4 separate regions of the Homo sapiens genome follow, and regions 2, 3 and 4 are each linked to region 1. The links are contacts of gene promoters, found by promoter capture Hi-C in blood cells and fetal thymus (Javierre and others, 2016). All regions are on one chromosome and are shown on one strand. The core of a region is centred on a gene start or on the middle of the fragment in contact, and the rest is flanking DNA. Distances in the headings are between cores, read along the strand shown. Region 1 holds the start of CHORDC1 (cysteine and histidine rich domain containing 1). Region 2 holds the start of CCDC90B (coiled-coil domain containing 90B). Region 3 holds the start of CCDC82 (coiled-coil domain containing 82). Region 4 holds the start of CEP57 (centrosomal protein 57).

What was found. The method cuts DNA at HindIII sites, captures the fragments that hold promoters and counts their contacts. A CHiCAGO score of 5 or more calls a contact.
Region 2: the fragment with the promoter of CCDC90B here is called in contact with the fragment with the promoter of CHORDC1 in region 1 in 1 of 17 cell types (non-activated CD4 T cells); the score reaches 6.3 in non-activated CD4 T cells.
Region 3: the fragment with the promoter of CCDC82 here is called in contact with the fragment with the promoter of CHORDC1 in region 1 in 2 of 17 cell types (fetal thymus and total CD8 T cells); the score reaches 7.0 in fetal thymus.
Region 4: a fragment that was not itself captured here is called in contact with the fragment with the promoter of CHORDC1 in region 1 in 1 of 17 cell types (non-activated CD4 T cells); the score reaches 5.3 in non-activated CD4 T cells.

The regions. Positions count from the first base shown.
Region 1 is chr11:90,220,996-90,224,947 of GRCh38, forward strand. It overlaps CHORDC1 (cysteine and histidine rich domain containing 1), which reads right to left and starts at 2,054. Exons shown (of 11, transcript NM_012124.3): 1 at 1,896-2,054. The coding sequence starts at 1,959. It overlaps LOC124902812 (a long non-coding RNA gene), which reads left to right and starts at 2,164. Exons shown (of 2, transcript XR_007062978.1): 1 at 2,164-2,425. The HindIII fragment of the contact is 11,072 bases long and covers 1-3,952 here.
Region 2 is chr11:83,284,538-83,288,489 of GRCh38, forward strand. It overlaps CCDC90B (coiled-coil domain containing 90B), which reads right to left and starts at 1,830. Exons shown (of 9, transcript NM_021825.5): 1 at 1,336-1,830. The coding sequence starts at 1,435. It overlaps CCDC90B-AS1 (CCDC90B antisense RNA 1), which reads left to right and starts at 1,583. Exons shown (of 3, transcript NR_186344.1): 1 at 1,583-2,010. RefSeq lists enhancers at 603-1,199, 1,088-1,167, 1,200-1,795, 1,218-1,867. The HindIII fragment of the contact is 4,800 bases long and covers 1-2,284 here.
Region 3 is chr11:96,388,662-96,392,613 of GRCh38, forward strand. CCDC82 (coiled-coil domain containing 82) reads right to left here and starts at 1,251. Exons shown (of 10, transcript NM_024725.4): 1 at 1,183-1,251. It overlaps JRKL (JRK like), which reads left to right and starts at 1,352. Exons shown (of 2, transcript NM_001261833.2): 1 at 1,352-1,412; 2 at 1,822-3,952. The coding sequence starts at 1,989. The coding sequence ends at 3,563. RefSeq lists a silencer at 1,165-1,424. The HindIII fragment of the contact is 1,223 bases long and covers 809-2,031 here.
Region 4 is chr11:95,789,927-95,793,878 of GRCh38, forward strand. CEP57 (centrosomal protein 57) reads left to right here and starts at 572. Exons shown (of 11, transcript NM_014679.5): 1 at 572-817. The coding sequence starts at 773. RefSeq lists enhancers at 384-853, 817-1,480. The HindIII fragment of the contact is 581 bases long and covers 961-1,541 here.

The DNA.
Region 1 (3,952 bases), core at 804-3,303:
TATCAGCTTAAAAGGGAGTCTAATTTCTGTCTCTAGGGGGAAAAAAAAATCATGAGACTATAAGTCAACGAGCACGGTAATTATGCCACAGCACCGAGAAAAAAAGCATTTAGTGTAGATTAAGAAATATTTAAAGATGACAGATCCAACATCTGGCTTACGCAAAATGGAACTTGCTTGTGTATTTACCTCTTTTAACTTATTTCTGTCAACTGTACAAGGTCAAACCTCTTCCTAAAAAACCTCCTAACCAACCTTTCTATTTAGTTCTTGTCTCCTACTCCGTATCTCCATTTTCTTCTCCTTCCATTCACTCAATCAGTTTACTTGAAAAATGTATTCTAAGTCTCTAAAAAAACCGTCATTTCGCTAAAGTAAATATACTTATTGGAATTTCTCTGCTGTAACTAGTACTGCTGACCACCCAAGTTTTGAGACGGTTTTCCTGGTCGCTTTCTGTTTCCTAGGCACTGCACCAATTCACACATGGATACAGACTTCCAACAAATGACTATCGCCCCTGAACTTTATTGTCTCATAAGCAAAGCGTCAGTCTTTCCCCTGTATTCTATATTAAAGTAGAATATCTGCAGACATAAGTGCAATTAATGTTTTACATAGGCTGCCAACACCAAAGGGCTTTAAAATCGTTTCTCGATTTTGTCATCGACTGAAATCTCACAATTTTCCTCATGAGTAGCATCATATTTGCATCATAAAAATGTCAGTGGCGGTAACTTGAGTATTGCATAGGTTGGATTTTCCTTTTCCTTAAAACTCTGTATCAATGGTCTTATTTTAAATAACGCTATCAATTTACCTGTGTGCCAAAAATAAGTATTTCAAACATCTCAGAGGTGAAGAGTTCAAAAGGCATCAGTTTTCATCTCCTCCACAATAATGAAGGATGTTATTAATACAACCTCATTGAACTGAGCTTCTCTATCAAATGGGTCTAATTAACATTACATGCGTCCCAGGGTGGTTATGAAGATTAAATAAGATAAAGCAATAATGGCTGGCATGCAGAAAATATAAACTAAATGCTAGTTCAATCTGAAAACGTGTTGTCACTTCTCACGATACGCAAGGAATCATCTCACTTCTTTGTCAATCAAAATTTCAATTCACTGATCATTTCCCGTCCTTCACCTAATAGTCATTTTCGCTTTGGATCCTTAACTCGACATCTAGGTGCTGTAGATGACATTCACTCATTTTATACGGGAGTAGGCATGGTAGTAAAACGTGGAGGCCACAAGAAGAACAAGCAACAAATGCCGCTAGTAATAAAAAGATAACTAACGTACCACCAGGATGAACCTATCAAAACAGCGTGAAGATACAGAGTAATGTCCCTTACCAAGAACACTTGTAAGAGGTTTGTAACAGCGGATCGACTGAACACAAACTTCTACAAGGCAGAGCTTACATGCTAGGACAACCCGCTGCTCATCCCGGCCACCTCTCCCTCTCGCGCAGGCAATCACAGCCATCACTACTTCGGGAACTACAAAGCAAGCTCACCAGTACCTCGTTAATTTTTGCTTCCCCAGAGACTGGAGGGCCAGAGGAGAAACGTGTTCGTTCTAAATTCCAGGCGACTTAAAAGGAGTGCGGGGACGACGGGGGAAACACGTGGATCCATGGGAGCGTCTCTCTCCGCAGTGGCAGAGGACAGTCAGGCGCCGGGGCCGGGCGCTCGCCAAGGGAACGCGGCGCAACAGAGGGGCGGCCGGCGGGCTGCGCGGGCAGCCAAGGGAGGCCCAGGAGGGGCATGGACCTGGGGCCGCGCGAGGACGGCTGCAGGAGATCCGCGGACACCCTCCGGCCCAAAGGGCCTCCCCTGCTGATGAGGTGGAGGGGAGGGAGGGCTGGCGGCGCGTTCCTCTTACCGTCGGAATTGGTCTCAGGATCGAAGCGCTGACCGCAGCCCCGGTTGTAGCACAGCAAGGCCATTTTCTTTTCCCACCGTCACAGGCAAGGCCCAAACACCGGGAACGGCAAGAGGATGCGTTTGCCACTCCCGTGTCGCTAGCACCGGTCTGACGACTGAGGCGGCTACCGGCTTCCGGAAACGATCCGTTGCGTTTCAGGAACCTTCGCGAATTTTCCGGTCGCGCAGGCGCAGAGGAGAAGGGACGAGGCGGAGGTAGCGGCGGGAGGCTGGCACTAGCCCGGGCCACGATAGGTCGGACTACAGCTGGTAGCAACTGGGGGTCGGAAGTGGAGCCCAGACAACAGCGGAGGAGAAATTTCCGGGGCAGAAAATGAAGGTGTCCGAGAGACTGACAATTCTCTTCTGACTTCCTCAGTGCTAACTGGCTTTGGGTATCTCCTGCAGCAAAGTGGCCGCCCCGCCCTCTCATCCCCTGCGACCCAGCACCCTTCTTCCTTGCCTTGAGGCTGCGCCTTAGACAGCCCGGTGGGTATCTGTTTACCCCTTAGCACTAAGGGATAAGTGCACAGTAAGTGCAGAATCATACAGTGTTTCCAAATCCTCAGGGTAGACGTGTGAGCTTAGTAAATGAGAGGAATAGCGGACGAACCTCTCCGTGTGTTTGTGTCTCGAGTGCCCTCATCTCAGGAGCAATTTTAATAACTTAACAGTTGCGGTCACATTACTTTGAAAATACAAAAAACGTAGAAATCAGAGTAGCAAAGAAAATTATGGATCTGATGCTGTGCCAGAATTGATCACAGTTGCTCTAAAGCCCTGGGGTAATAGTTAATATTTCATGTGAGCCTCCACTTAAACGATTTATCAATACTCAGTACACCACTCTTGGAACAGCTAGTAAAACTTCAGGTGCATTATAAAAAGTACAGTAATGCATTGGCTTCAACTTGCATATTTCCCAAACATGGGCGTTTGCAAGAAAAGCAAACACTTTTTGATAACATATACTGAAGGATCTTAAAATAAGATCAGCAGCTTATAAGTGAACCTAAAAATCTATACACTGTTTCCATTGATCTCAAGGTTATTTAGAGATCTGCTCACGTCCTCCTACCCCTAAAGACTTTTTAGTTTTTCATATTCTCTTTCTCTTCTTCTACCTAGAAGTATTAAATTTTCATATTGTGATCCACCATAGATAGGTATGTTTTCTTCATTTAACCTAACGTGAGTATTTTTCTATTTTGTTTCATAGTCATTGTTACAAATGACGGAGTATTCTGTTGAATAAATGCACTGTAATTTAACCTTTCTCTAATTTCCCCAACTTTATTATATATAAGTTACAGTGCTCAACCTGTGTATTGTTTTTCTTATTTCGAATTTCCCCCTTTAGGAAAATTTTTGGAAAGCGACAGTTCTGGGGTAAAGGGCATAAGGCTTTTTAAATAACTTTAAGATTTTAAAGATATATAGAGCCAATTGCTTTCCGAAAGGTGGTACCAATTTACAATTGCACCGGCTGTGAATGTAATAGACCGTAGAAATTGATCATACACAATTGGAAATGAGTAAGTGGAGAGCTCTAAAAAGTTTTAGTTGTGACCAAATCTGTTGTCTTGAGTATCCTAGTATCAATGCAACATTACCAGGATTGTTAGTGAACTAAACCTTTTAAATAATTTTAATGTTTATTTCTAGTTTTTCATCTGTAGCATTTTACAATCAGAATATAATTGCTTATGGTAGATAATTTGGAAAACGCAGAAGTATACTAAGAACAAAGTCAACAATAATTCCACCACCCAGCAATAAGTACTGAATGGCTAAAATAACTCTTTGGTAAATTTATTTTCAGTGTTTCCTGACACCCCAAGCATTTATAGATATATATGTTTAAAAAGAGTCGTGTTATATATAGGAGTTTATGTTCCTCCCTTGGGTATTTTGAGAAACTATAAAATTAAATCATTCTTATGATTAAGAAAAACAGTGTTACAGCAACAGCCTGTTTCAATCCCACCTCCACTTACATTTCCATTCCAACACTTC
Region 2 (3,952 bases), core at 580-3,079, 6.9 Mb before region 1:
CATTGGTCAGAGGTCAAGGTTTTCAAATCCCTTGATTATTGACATTATTAGGCAAGTTTAAACTACTTGTATAAAATAAACATTCAATATTTGTTTAGTGAGGAAGGACACAAATCCTACTAGTTGTAAGAAGAGATTTAAGGTTTCTCCAAGAACACTCAGATTCAAGTGGGATAACTTTTATGTTAAAACATTAACATGTACTTATGGTCATTTATTTCCCAGTATGATATACACTTCAAAGTTCATTCTCTAAGAACATTTAATTTTGTTTTCATTTGGATATGTAAAAGTCAACAAAGATGGCAGCTGGATGACTTCCTGGAGTTCAAAAGTGCTACCTCCTTTTTGTAAAATCCATCATAATGTGTATGTATGCTAAACACTCAAATACCTAACAAAAGAGACCTTGTGAATGACCCTGGCAGCTAAACAGCAATCTCACAGATGGAGGATCAACAACTGCAGTTTTGACTGCAGCTGTTACTGGTGTGGATTAAAATGAAACAATGAGCAAAATAGCACAAGTAACAATATGGAGTATAAATAACAGCGTAGAAGTGTTTGGGTACCGAATGGCTCAGCGTACCTGGCACTGAAGATTCAAGAAGGTGAACAGAGATAAGAGGTGCCTATTCGCCTATTTTGTGGACAACCTTAAAACGGTTTAAAAACTGGGAGGGAAGTTAAAAAACTGGGGGTGAAAAACAACGACGACAACAAAAACCTAGCCCTAGAAACATTTCTCTGAATAAAGTTAGATGTCTTCAGGACACCCTGTTAACAGGGGTGCCAACAGGTTGGAAACTTGTGGGTTCCAGTATTCACTTATTTTCCCAAAGTCTACAATGTGACTGAAATGTACTGAGAATTCCAGTGAGAATAAGGCAGACGTGGCCTGAAATTTATGATGCTGTCTACCAAAAACCTGGGCTCGAGGCCAGCACCTAAAAAAACAAAATCAAAATTTGATCAGGCCACAAAAGAAAACAGGACACCCTCAAACACAGATTACCTTACGTTGGCTCCTGACGAGATTACTAGCCTCTTGTCACCAAAAAACGGAAACAACGGCTGAGAAAGAAGCCGGGCGCGAAGCCCAGGCCTTCAAAGGTTCGCTTTAAGAACAGAAAGGCAGTGCTTTCCTCAGTCCTCGCCCCTTGGGGCGAGCTGGGCAAGTCGGGGCAGCAGGCAGCGGCGTCGCCCAGCACAAGGCGTGAATCCGGGAGGAGGGCGTGGCACCTTCTCTTCCCGTTCGCTCGAGCAGGCGCGACCCCACGGGCATCGTCTCCCTAGAGAGCACTCAGGCATCTATGACACGACGCCTTGCCTCACCTCTCCGCAGGGCCGGCGAGAAATGCCCGCGGGGCCTTGAAACCCAACGATCTCCTCTGCCTTGGGAGAGAAAGAGCCGCCAAGCCTGGCGACTATTCATGTCCTCAGAGTTTTCCGGTGGGAGGGAGGCGGAAGACGGGGTAAATCTCGCACAGGCTTTCGGGCAAGGTAGTTCTGGCACCACAGGAATGCTGGGAATTGTAGTTTTCGCTCTGTCACAAGCTCACCTCCCAGCGCAGGCGCCACCGTGGTCCCACGAAACTGGGTCTCTTCACAGACAGACCCACAGTTCGCGAGCATGGCTCAGCGCTGCCCCGCTTCTCCCAGCGCCCCTTCCCGACCTTTGAACGCCTTCACCGCCCTAGGAAAGCGAGATCTTGTCAGAGAACCTTCCGGCGCCTGTTTCCTGGCAGTGGGGCATAGTCCAACAGCTGGCTCCCCCAAGATAGCCAGCGGCCATTACGCGCTTGGGTCGGGGGAGATGGAGTCGCATTTAGCCGCACAGCAGCCTGGAACCTGAAGTTTTCGGCCGCTGAGCGTTCTGGGTGATTGCGTAGTGCGAGGGCCAACGAAACCTTCTGGGAAGTGTAGTCCAGCAAGCCGCTCACTTTTCGTGAGGCGTCACATCCTGCTGCTTCACCCTCTGGTGCACGGGAGGACCAACTATTTCAGTCGGTATGTCCTTTCTTTAGGGAAGCCGAATTCCTCCGTTTCTAGGAGAAATTCCTTGAATTTTCACCATTTATCCTTCTCAGACCTCAGTTACTCAAGACTGCTCCGCATAGTAAAATGCTGAAAGCAACAATGCACAGTAGTTGTATTAAAATGCACTAATACTCATGAATATTCTCTGTAAGTTGTAAAATGGCACACAGTTGTGCGGTGTTAGTGGCTTACTCTCTCAAGATTCTAAACAATTACGGCTAGGTTTCTATCTATATGTATTCAAAGCTTTGTGAGAGTCAACTAAGTAACAAACACCATTTCTAAGGCCCGAAGCACATTGAAAGAACAAAACTTGATTCCCGCCAACAACTGCTTTAACAGACAATTCATGAAGAGGAAATATAAATTGCTATTTAAAACACTGGGATGGCTGGGCGTGGTGGCTCATGCCTGTAATTCCAGCACTTTGGGAGGCCGAGGCGGGCAGATCACCTGAGGTCGGGAGTTCGAGACCAACCTGACCAACGTGGAGAAACCCTGTCTATATTAAAAATACAAAATTAGCCGGGCGTGGTGGCACATGCCTGTAATCCCAGCTACTCAGGAGGCTGAGGTAGGAGAATCGCTTGAATCCTGGAGGCGGAGGTTGCAGTGAGTCGAGATCACACCATTGCACTCCAGCCTGGGCGACAGAGTGAGACTCGATCTAAAAAAAAAAAAAAAAAATTGGGAAAAAAGTTTGATCTTACCAGTTTCAAAATACAAAACGCAAAACCTTAGGGTATATCGAGGTTAGGGGTCCCAATGATCCCAACAGGATGTAAGCATAGTACTCAACAGGTGCTTTTTCAACCCATGCCCCTCTGTCCGTCTCCCCCTTTCCTCATCTAATGATCCTCAATGCCTGTTGTTTCCACGTTTACCATCATATATTCAATGTTTAGCTCCTACTTATAAGTGAGAACATGTGTATTTGGTTTTCTGTTCTTGGCATTAGGTTGCATAGGATAATGGCTCCAGTTCCATCCATGTTGCTACAAAGAGTATAATTTCCTTATTTTTATGGCTGCATTATATTCCATGGTGTATATGTACCACATTTTCTTTATCCAGTCCACTGTTGATGGGCACTTAGGTTGATTTCATGTCCTTGCTATCGTGAATGGCACTACAATGAACATACGGTTGCATGTGTCTTTTTTTTTTTTTTTTTTTTTTTGGCTTGAGGCAGGGTTTTGCTGCGTCACTCAGGCTGGAGTGCAGTCGTGCATGGCTCACTGCAGCCTCAACTTCCTGGGCTTAACTGATCCTCCTGCCTCAGGCTTCCAAGTAGCTGTGACTACAGGTGTGCACTACCACAACTGGCTAATTTTTGCATGTTTTGTAGAGATGGGGTCTTGCCATGTTGCCCAGGCTGGTCCAGAACTCCTGGGCTCAAACTATCCACCCGCCTAGGCCTCCCAAGTGCTGGGATTACAGGCATGAGCTGCGGTGCCCAGCTCTGTGTCTTTTTGATGGCATGAATTATTTTCCTTTGGGTATATACCCAGTAGTGGGATTGCTGGGTTGAATGGTAGTTGTATTTTAAGTTCTTTGAGAAATCTCCAAACTGCTTTCCATAGTGGCTGAACTAGTTTGCATTCCCATCAACAGAGTATAAGCATTCCCTTTTCTTCACAGCCTAACCAATATGTGAATTTTTTTTCTTAATAATTGCCATTCTGATGGGTGTGAGATGGCATCTCATTGTAGTTTTGATTTGCATTTCTCTAATGATCAGTGGTGTTGAGGATTTTTTCATGTTTGTTGGCTATTTGTATGTCTTCTTTTGAGAAGTGTGTGTTCATGTCCTTTGCTCATTTTTTAATTGGATTGTTTTATACTTCTTGGTTTGTTTAAATTCCTTATAGATTCTGGATGTTAGACCTTTGTCAGATGCATAGTTTGCAAA
Region 3 (3,952 bases), core at 1-2,500, 6.2 Mb after region 1:
CTCAAGAAAAGATTCATTCTAGAAATCACCTACTTGCTGTATAAACAATGCAGGTGGTAGTTAACACTTTACAGATTTGAAAGGCAGTGGAACCCCAGGTCATTATTTGAAATTCTACCAGGAGGGATCCATTCTTGGGTGTAAAACATCACTCCTCTTCGATGTTTTCTTTTATATGGCAGTTTGGAGAGCAAAGATTAATAAGCCGAAAAATAATTATTGAATATCTACCAAAATGCAAGCACCTGCTAGGAACTGTGCTGCCACCATTTCAAATAAACATGGTCTCTGCTCCCAAGGAGCTCACAATCTGATGAAATTACTAGGGACACCAAAAACAAGCCAGCATAATACACGATTTGAGGGCTACAGTGTATGATTAAGATCAAGTTCTTATCACACTGCTATGAATAAATTTATCATAGTTCTTCTATTGGCAGGAAAACAAGACAGAACATGACAGAAATAGGATATAAGAAAATAAACATAAAGAGAGGAAAGCCTATTTCCCCCACTTAGAATCACAGTCCAACAGTCCACAATTTCGCAAAGTGGATCCTGCCAGCATGGTATCCGGGATAACTATATTATTCATTAAAATCCGTTAACAATGAAGGTTAATGCAGCAGGAATGAGTGGTAGACAGTGGAATAGATCCTCTCAGGAATTAACACCCGGAAGGGTGACTTTCATGATTACAAACCTCTTTGGCGGGACGCAGGAACCCAGCGCCCGCTAGCCCACTAGTCCGTCACTCTGCCTCCAGGAGGGAGGGGCACAGTAGCTAGGAAACCGGACCCTCAGGCCAAGCTTCGCGATGACGCGCGCAGGACGACGGAAACCCCCAGACCCCAAAAGAGCTCTGCACCGAGAAAACAATTACAAGGGTCTGGAAAGGCCAGAAACCCGAGAAATCACCAACCGAGCTCCCTACATCAGTTCCAAGCACCTCCCCAAGGCGGAAATAACGGGCACCGCGCCCACTGCAGCTCAGCTGAGGAGGGTTAGAGGCGCAAAGGGCTGAGGGGCGTTCTCCGGCCCACCCAAAGAGCGCCCGCGGGAATTTTTCTCTTAGTCCGCGAGGAGGCACGGCTTCCCCCGCCCCTCTCATAAACCATTAGCACCGGGAGCGCGAGCGAGTCCCAGCCGGGAGACAGCCCCGCACCGCCCTCGCGCTCTCACCTTTCAAAGCGCCTCCACCTCTGCCTCCGCCTCCGCCCCTGCCCCGGCAACCAGCTCAGGACAAGCGATGCTCCTCCCCCCCTTCCGGGGACCAAGGGAAGTCCCGCCTCTGGGTGGGGCGAGGGGTGGGGCCAGGCGGCGGGAGGGATCATCTTCCGGGAGCGTGGCTAGGGGCGGAGCGACTGCCGCGCGATAGTCAGGGAGCTGTGCGGGTCCTGGTTGCAAGAGAGGTGGGGAGAGGGGCCTGGCGGGTTTTGAGGGACTGGGAGGACTGTCCCGGCTAAAGCTGGCGCGGGAAACTGGGGCTGCGCGGCGGGAGGGCCCTGCTGCTGGGGAAGGAATCTAATATATCCGTTCCCCTGAGGAAGGGTGCCAGTCCTTGACTCCTAGGCTCTTCGGCTCTCTGTCGTAACTTTGGGGTGTGGCAGGGGTTAGTGACGCGCGGTTACCCGGGATCTGGACGTGCAGGAGGTTCGTGGCCACAATGGGGGTATAGTCTTTCTCACGGCTGCTGGGGTAATAAAACACATGCTTTTAATCCGGATTATCCGCGGTGACATGGGGCCTCCGCTACTGCCCGTATAAGTTAAAGAAAGGCCTGTTCTCTCAAACTTCCTCCTCTTTCACCTTCTTCTGCAGTCTATTTGCCAGCCAACCCCAGCCCGGGAGGGGATCAGGGCCACCAGGTTGCTGGTAAGGATGAAAGACTGAGTGTGTTAAGACTGTTGAAGTGAGCCTGTGTAAGAGAAGGAAGGATTTTGTGGATTGCTACATTGTGAGTGTGGGGTGAGTCCCAGAACCTCGCTATGTCAGGGAAACGGAAGCGTGTGGTGTTGACTATTAAAGATAAGCTTGATATAATAAAGAAACTTGAAGACGGAGGTTCTTCCAAACAACTGGCAGTGATTTATGGAATTGGTGAAACAACAGTTCGGGATATAAGAAAAAATAAGGAAAAGATTATAACTTATGCAAGCAGTTCTGATTCCACAAGTCTTTTGGCCAAGAGGAAATCTATGAAGCCATCCATGTATGAGGAATTGGACAGGGCAATGCTGGAATGGTTCAACCAGCAAAGAGCAAAAGGGAATCCCATATCTGGACCAATTTGTGCAAAAAGGGCAGAGTTCTTCTTTTATGCTTTGGGAATGGATGGTGATTTTAACCCCTCTGCCGGTTGGCTAACTCGTTTTAAGCAGCGGCACAGCATTAGAGAGATTAACATTAGAAATGAAAGATTAAATGGAGATGAGACTGCGGTGGAAGATTTTTGTAATAACTTTCGAGATTTTATTGAACGAGAGAATTTACAGCCTGAACAAATCTACAATGCAGATGAAACTGGACTCTTTTGGAAGTGCTTGCCTTCTAGGATTTCAGTAATCAAAGGTAAATGCACTGTCCCTGGGCACAAATCAATTGAAGAAAGAGTCACAATCATGTGTTGTGCCAATGCAACAGGTTTACACAAACTTAAACTTTGTGTTGTGGGGAAAGCAAAGAAACCTCGCTCCTTTAAATCAACTGACACCTTAAACCTGCCAGTCTCTTATTTCAGCCAAAAAGGTGCATGGATGGATCTTTCCATTTTCCGACAATGGTTTGATAAAATTTTTGTGCCGCAAGTTCGAGAGTATTTAAGATCTAAAGGCTTGCAGGAAAAGGCTGTGCTCTTGTTGGATAATTCACCAACACATCCAAATGAAAATGTCCTAAGGTCAGATGATGGCCAAATATTTGCTAAATATTTACCACCTAATGTGGCCTCATTGATTCAGCCTTCAGATCAGGGAGTCATAGCAACGATGAAGAGAAATTATCGTGCAGGTCTTCTCCAGAACAACTTGGAAGAAGGTAATGACCTGAAATCATTCTGGAAGAAGCTAACTCTGTTGGATGCACTTTATGAAATAGCAATGGCATGGAACTTAGTAAAACCAGTTACCATTAGCAGAGCATGGAAGAAGATTCTCCCTATGGTAGAGGAGAAAGAGAGCCTGGACTTTGATGTTGAAGATATTTCTGTGGCTACTGTGGCTGCCATTTTACAACACACCAAAGGATTGGAAAATGTGACTACTGAGAACCTTGAAAAATGGCTTGAAGTAGACAGTACTGAACCAGGCTATGAAGTGTTAACTGATAGCGAAATCATCAGAAGAGCACAAGGCCAGGCAGATGAATCCAGTGAAAATGAGGAGGAGGAAATAGAACTAATTCCAGAGAAACATATTAATCATGCAGCTGCCCTCCAGTGGACTGAAAATTTATTGGATTATCTAGAACAACAAGGTGATATGATTCTACCTGATAGACTGGTAATACGTAAACTTCGAGCCACCATCAGAAATAAACAGAAGATGACAAAGTCAAGTCAATAATGTCATTTCAATTTTATTGTTCTGCTCATTGTGTTTGTGACAAACTCTTTGCAATATGGCTTAATTTTCTTTGTGTTCTGAATTCTCAGACTTGGTCCTGTGAAATACAGGCACAAAATGTATCTGAAGTGGTTTGAGGATTATGTGTTTTCATCATCTGTGTCTTTTGTCCTTTTATTTGTACAGATAATCAGAAGATGATACTGAATAGATATAAATTACATGTACACATGTATTCACTTTTTAGAATCTGCAATTATACCTTCTGTAACAGTGGCATTCCCTTAATTTTCTAGTGAAAGTTAGAGATAACTGAACAGACTGAAGCACTTTTCTGAAATCTTTTGCTTGATTTATGAAGGCTGCCATAGTTATCTTTTCTTGTGTTA
Region 4 (3,952 bases), core at 1-2,500, 5.6 Mb after region 1:
TCTCAGCGCGCGAAATCCGCTTTGAACCTGCCCCGCCCAAAGGTCTGCGGTCGCGGCTATTTCTAACAGCCAGTCCCAGGTTTGGCTGAGAGCGCCCCAATCCAATTGAGCAAATGTTCGCGAAAGGCTCGTTCTCTGCCGCAACTTTTTTTCCCTTGCTTTCTATTGGACTAAATCGTTAAGTCCCTCCTAATCCTATTTGTTATTGGCCAAAAGGTAAATACTTCACCTGGAGAGGCGTCCCCGAGGCAAATTCACGCTCTCTCCGGCGTTTAATCCGAGGGAACTCGTGGAGTGCTTTAACTTCGCCTTCGCTTTTGTTTTATCTCCATTACTCCCTTCAGTTGCCACTGGCGACACCACTACTCGCCCACGCTTCTTACTGGAGGAGGCCCGACCCTCCGTAGAATCCCCGCAGAGCCGGCCTGTAACCCCGGCGTTGTCTGCCCCAGCGGGCCCCGTTACGCGCTACCTTGTGACGTCACCAGGGAAGAGGCGGATTCTCTCCTACTACAGAAAGACGTCTGCTGTTTTGATTGGCTAGGAAAGACGTCCGTTAGGACGTGTTGCCCTTTCTGTGTAAGCTGTGAGCGTAGGCGGCCCTGAGGGGGTGTGTTGCAGGGGTTTCCAAGCCCAGCACCAGCACCCTTGCCCTTTTCCATCAGGGGTTCAGCCTAGGGTCCCCGCTGGTGGGCGGCTCCCGAGTCTTGGAGAAGAGCACGAGAACCTAGACCGCCCCCGAAGTGCGGAGACCCCCTGGGCAGGCTGAAAGATGGCGGCGGCGTCTGTCTCTGCGGCTTCTGGTTCTCACTTGTCGGTAAGAAGCAGTTGGCGCGAGTGGGCCCCACGTCGGCCCTAAGCGCCTCTTTGAGTTTCCTCACGTTTCAGGGCGCTGTCAGTCCAGCTTCTGACGCAATTCTGGAGGTCGGCGGGAATGCCTAGATTGCCCCGCGCTCCCCAAGCTTCCATTCACTGTGGCTGTGTCGAAGCTGCACCCTCTGGCTCCCAGTGAAACTGGGCTGGCCGCCCCTGTTCCCCAGCCCTTATTCACCTTTTGGCGTAGCAACCAACCCCGGTTGCCTAACATTCCCAAGGGCCGGCTGGGATAACTGCCCACTCCCTGGCCTGCAAAAATGTAGCTCTTTTGGTCACGTGGGTTCAGCGGCCCCTCTAGGAAACTCGCCAGATCAGGTGAGGCGCGCCAGTGTGTTTAAGAGACGTTGCAGAATAGTAGTCCGCCGTCTCTCGAGCGCTTACTAGTCGTTGCTTATGCTGTTTCCTATCCCTGCAGTGCCTCCCACTCCCATCCACATTAACTTCGTTGTGTGATGCTCGTAGCCAGAACGCGCGCTTCCTGTCACCTAGAATTACTGGAACTTCAATGTGGAAATGCCCTTTTGGAGAGGCGACAGGGGGAATTGATTTTAAATATTGTTTTCGCCTCATCAAATGTCACCATCCAGTTTAGTTACTGGTATTCACTGGTATTTCTCAAATTGGAGTGTCGAATGCTTAGGTTTTTGAAAACCGCGGCATTGGAAAGCTTTGATAGGAAGTAAATGTTGGAGCTCTTATTTCTCCAGTTAGCAAATGTTCGATGCCTGGTATACTGTTAGGGTCCAAATGAACAGAATAGAAACCCTGCTTTGAAGGAGAAAAACACTGAAGAGAAACTACACGTAATTAGTGATTACTGCGCAGTATAGTTTAGGAAGTGCTACCGTAGTAGAATAATCTAGAGGGGAGTGATTAACAGTGCTTGGGTAGGCTAGAGAAGGTTTCCTAGAAGGGAAGATGGAGCTAGTTGCGTGTCGAAGGAATTGTGATTGCTTGTCCCAAGAGTAGAGAAAGGAGAAAAAGGCAGTGCGGGAATTTTGGAGTATGTGCTAGAACAGTAGGTGCTTTTAGGAAACTTGAGATAGTTCGGAATGAGAAGAAGTAATACGGAGGTAGAGCTGGATGAGGTGAATTGGAAACGTAGGTAAAAACGTGAAAAAAGAAGGATGGTGAGGGAAGGAACTAGAAGAGTATCAGGGTAAAGTTATTTTCTAGGATCTAGGGGGAAAGAGTTGGAAACGCTAAGAAAGCCTGGTCACCTTGGAGAAGTCAGTTTCAGCTTTTGGAGACTTGTTAGAATTTGTAATAATGGGACTAGAAGTATTACAGTGTTTCAGCCGAATGGGAATTAGAAGTTTGCAGAGAGGTCTGGGGAAGTTAAGGAGAAGTAAGGAAAGCAGCAATTTAAGGTTATTCAGGATTAGGTCAGTAAAAGAAAAAAGTAAAAAACTATTGGAAGTGTCAGCAGATGGATGAGATTTTATAGGAGATGTGATTAAACTTGGGAGAAGAGGGCTTTTCACGGCTCTCAAAAGTTAAGCACTTGGAGACCGAACAAGGAATACTCTTACAAATGTTGAATTGAGTCTGGGTGCGTGGCTCATGCCTGTAATACCAGCTACTAGTGAGGCTGAGGCGGGAGGATCACTGAGGCTGAAGTGAGGTATGATAGTGCCACTGCTCTCCAGCCTGGGCGACAGAGCGACCCTGTCTCCATAAAATAAAATATTAAATAAACGTTTAATTGAGCTGCACTATGCCAAGGACACCTAGGTGAGCATTGGCACTGGGATATAGTCAGCTGTTAATACTTATACGGTACCCTTGACAGAAATACCAAAGACTGTTCATTAGGAAAGCATATTTTTTTTGTGCTAAGCTCAGCTTTAATAGGATTCTAAATATCAAGGGTACACTAAGAATATCTAGGAACCTCCACAAATCAAAGTATAACAACCATAACTCAATCTGCTACATCAAAATGTCTATTTTGGAAGTTACTGTTTCTCAAAACAAAAATGACTAAATTTAGTTGGTTTCTTGGTGCGTAAGAAAACGTCCTGCTTAGATGTCCCATCAGAAATAAGGCTGCCATTTCCAACAGCGTTGGAAAAGCACTTAGCTTATCAAACAGCTGATCTTAACAGTAGGCAACATTTAAAAAAAAAAAAACTTGTTAAAACTATACCATGAACTGAGAACACAACTCGTATTCAGATTTCACGGTTATGAAGATTAACAACTGTTATATTCAACTGTTTTCGACATTGATAAACTCATACGGAGCTAGTTATAAGTACATTGAGATGCTTTACAGGCAAAGATTTTTAACAAGTAGATTCATAAATAACCGTCTTTGGGAAGCAGTGACCATGTAAATCTCAAATGTGAACAGCATGGAAGTAGGGCGATAGGTTTCAGTTAGGTTCTAGGTAACGTTTATTGAGTGATTGCTCTGGAATTGATAAACTTCGACTGGTGGAAAAGGCAGGAAAGCAACTATGATTGGGCATAATGAAATTAATTCCATATGGAGGTATGGGCAGCATTGTGTTGAAATACACAAGAATGTCTTTCATGTCAGCCTTGTAATATTTTCACAATAACCTTGGTGATTAATGACCTAATCTCTTGATTTGTCCCTCTGACTTTTGGTCCTTCGACCAAGCTGCACAGTAGCTCCATATTAATTTCCCTTAAAAATGTTTTATGGCTATCATACATTTTATAATATTAAATATAAGATTTACTTTTTGAGAATAATAAAATGAATACCTTCATGTTCCTCTGTGTCTTCTTTCTCCTTCCCACACCCACCCACTACCACGTATTTTAAGATTATAATGTATGGTATTTATATAGGACTACCTGGCAAGGCATAATCCTTAAAGACCCTTTTCATGCATTAACTCATTTAATCCTCACAATAACCTTCTGAGATTGGCATTAATATTTCCTTTTTCAAATGAGCAAAATGAGGCACAGAGAGGTTGAGTCAAAGTTCTCTAGCTAGTAAATGACAGTATCTTAATGGGCTTTGGATTTAATGGGTTTTGCTGTTCATTTGTTTGCCAGATATTAGAAACAATCTTGTATTCATTGTTATATGCTGTAC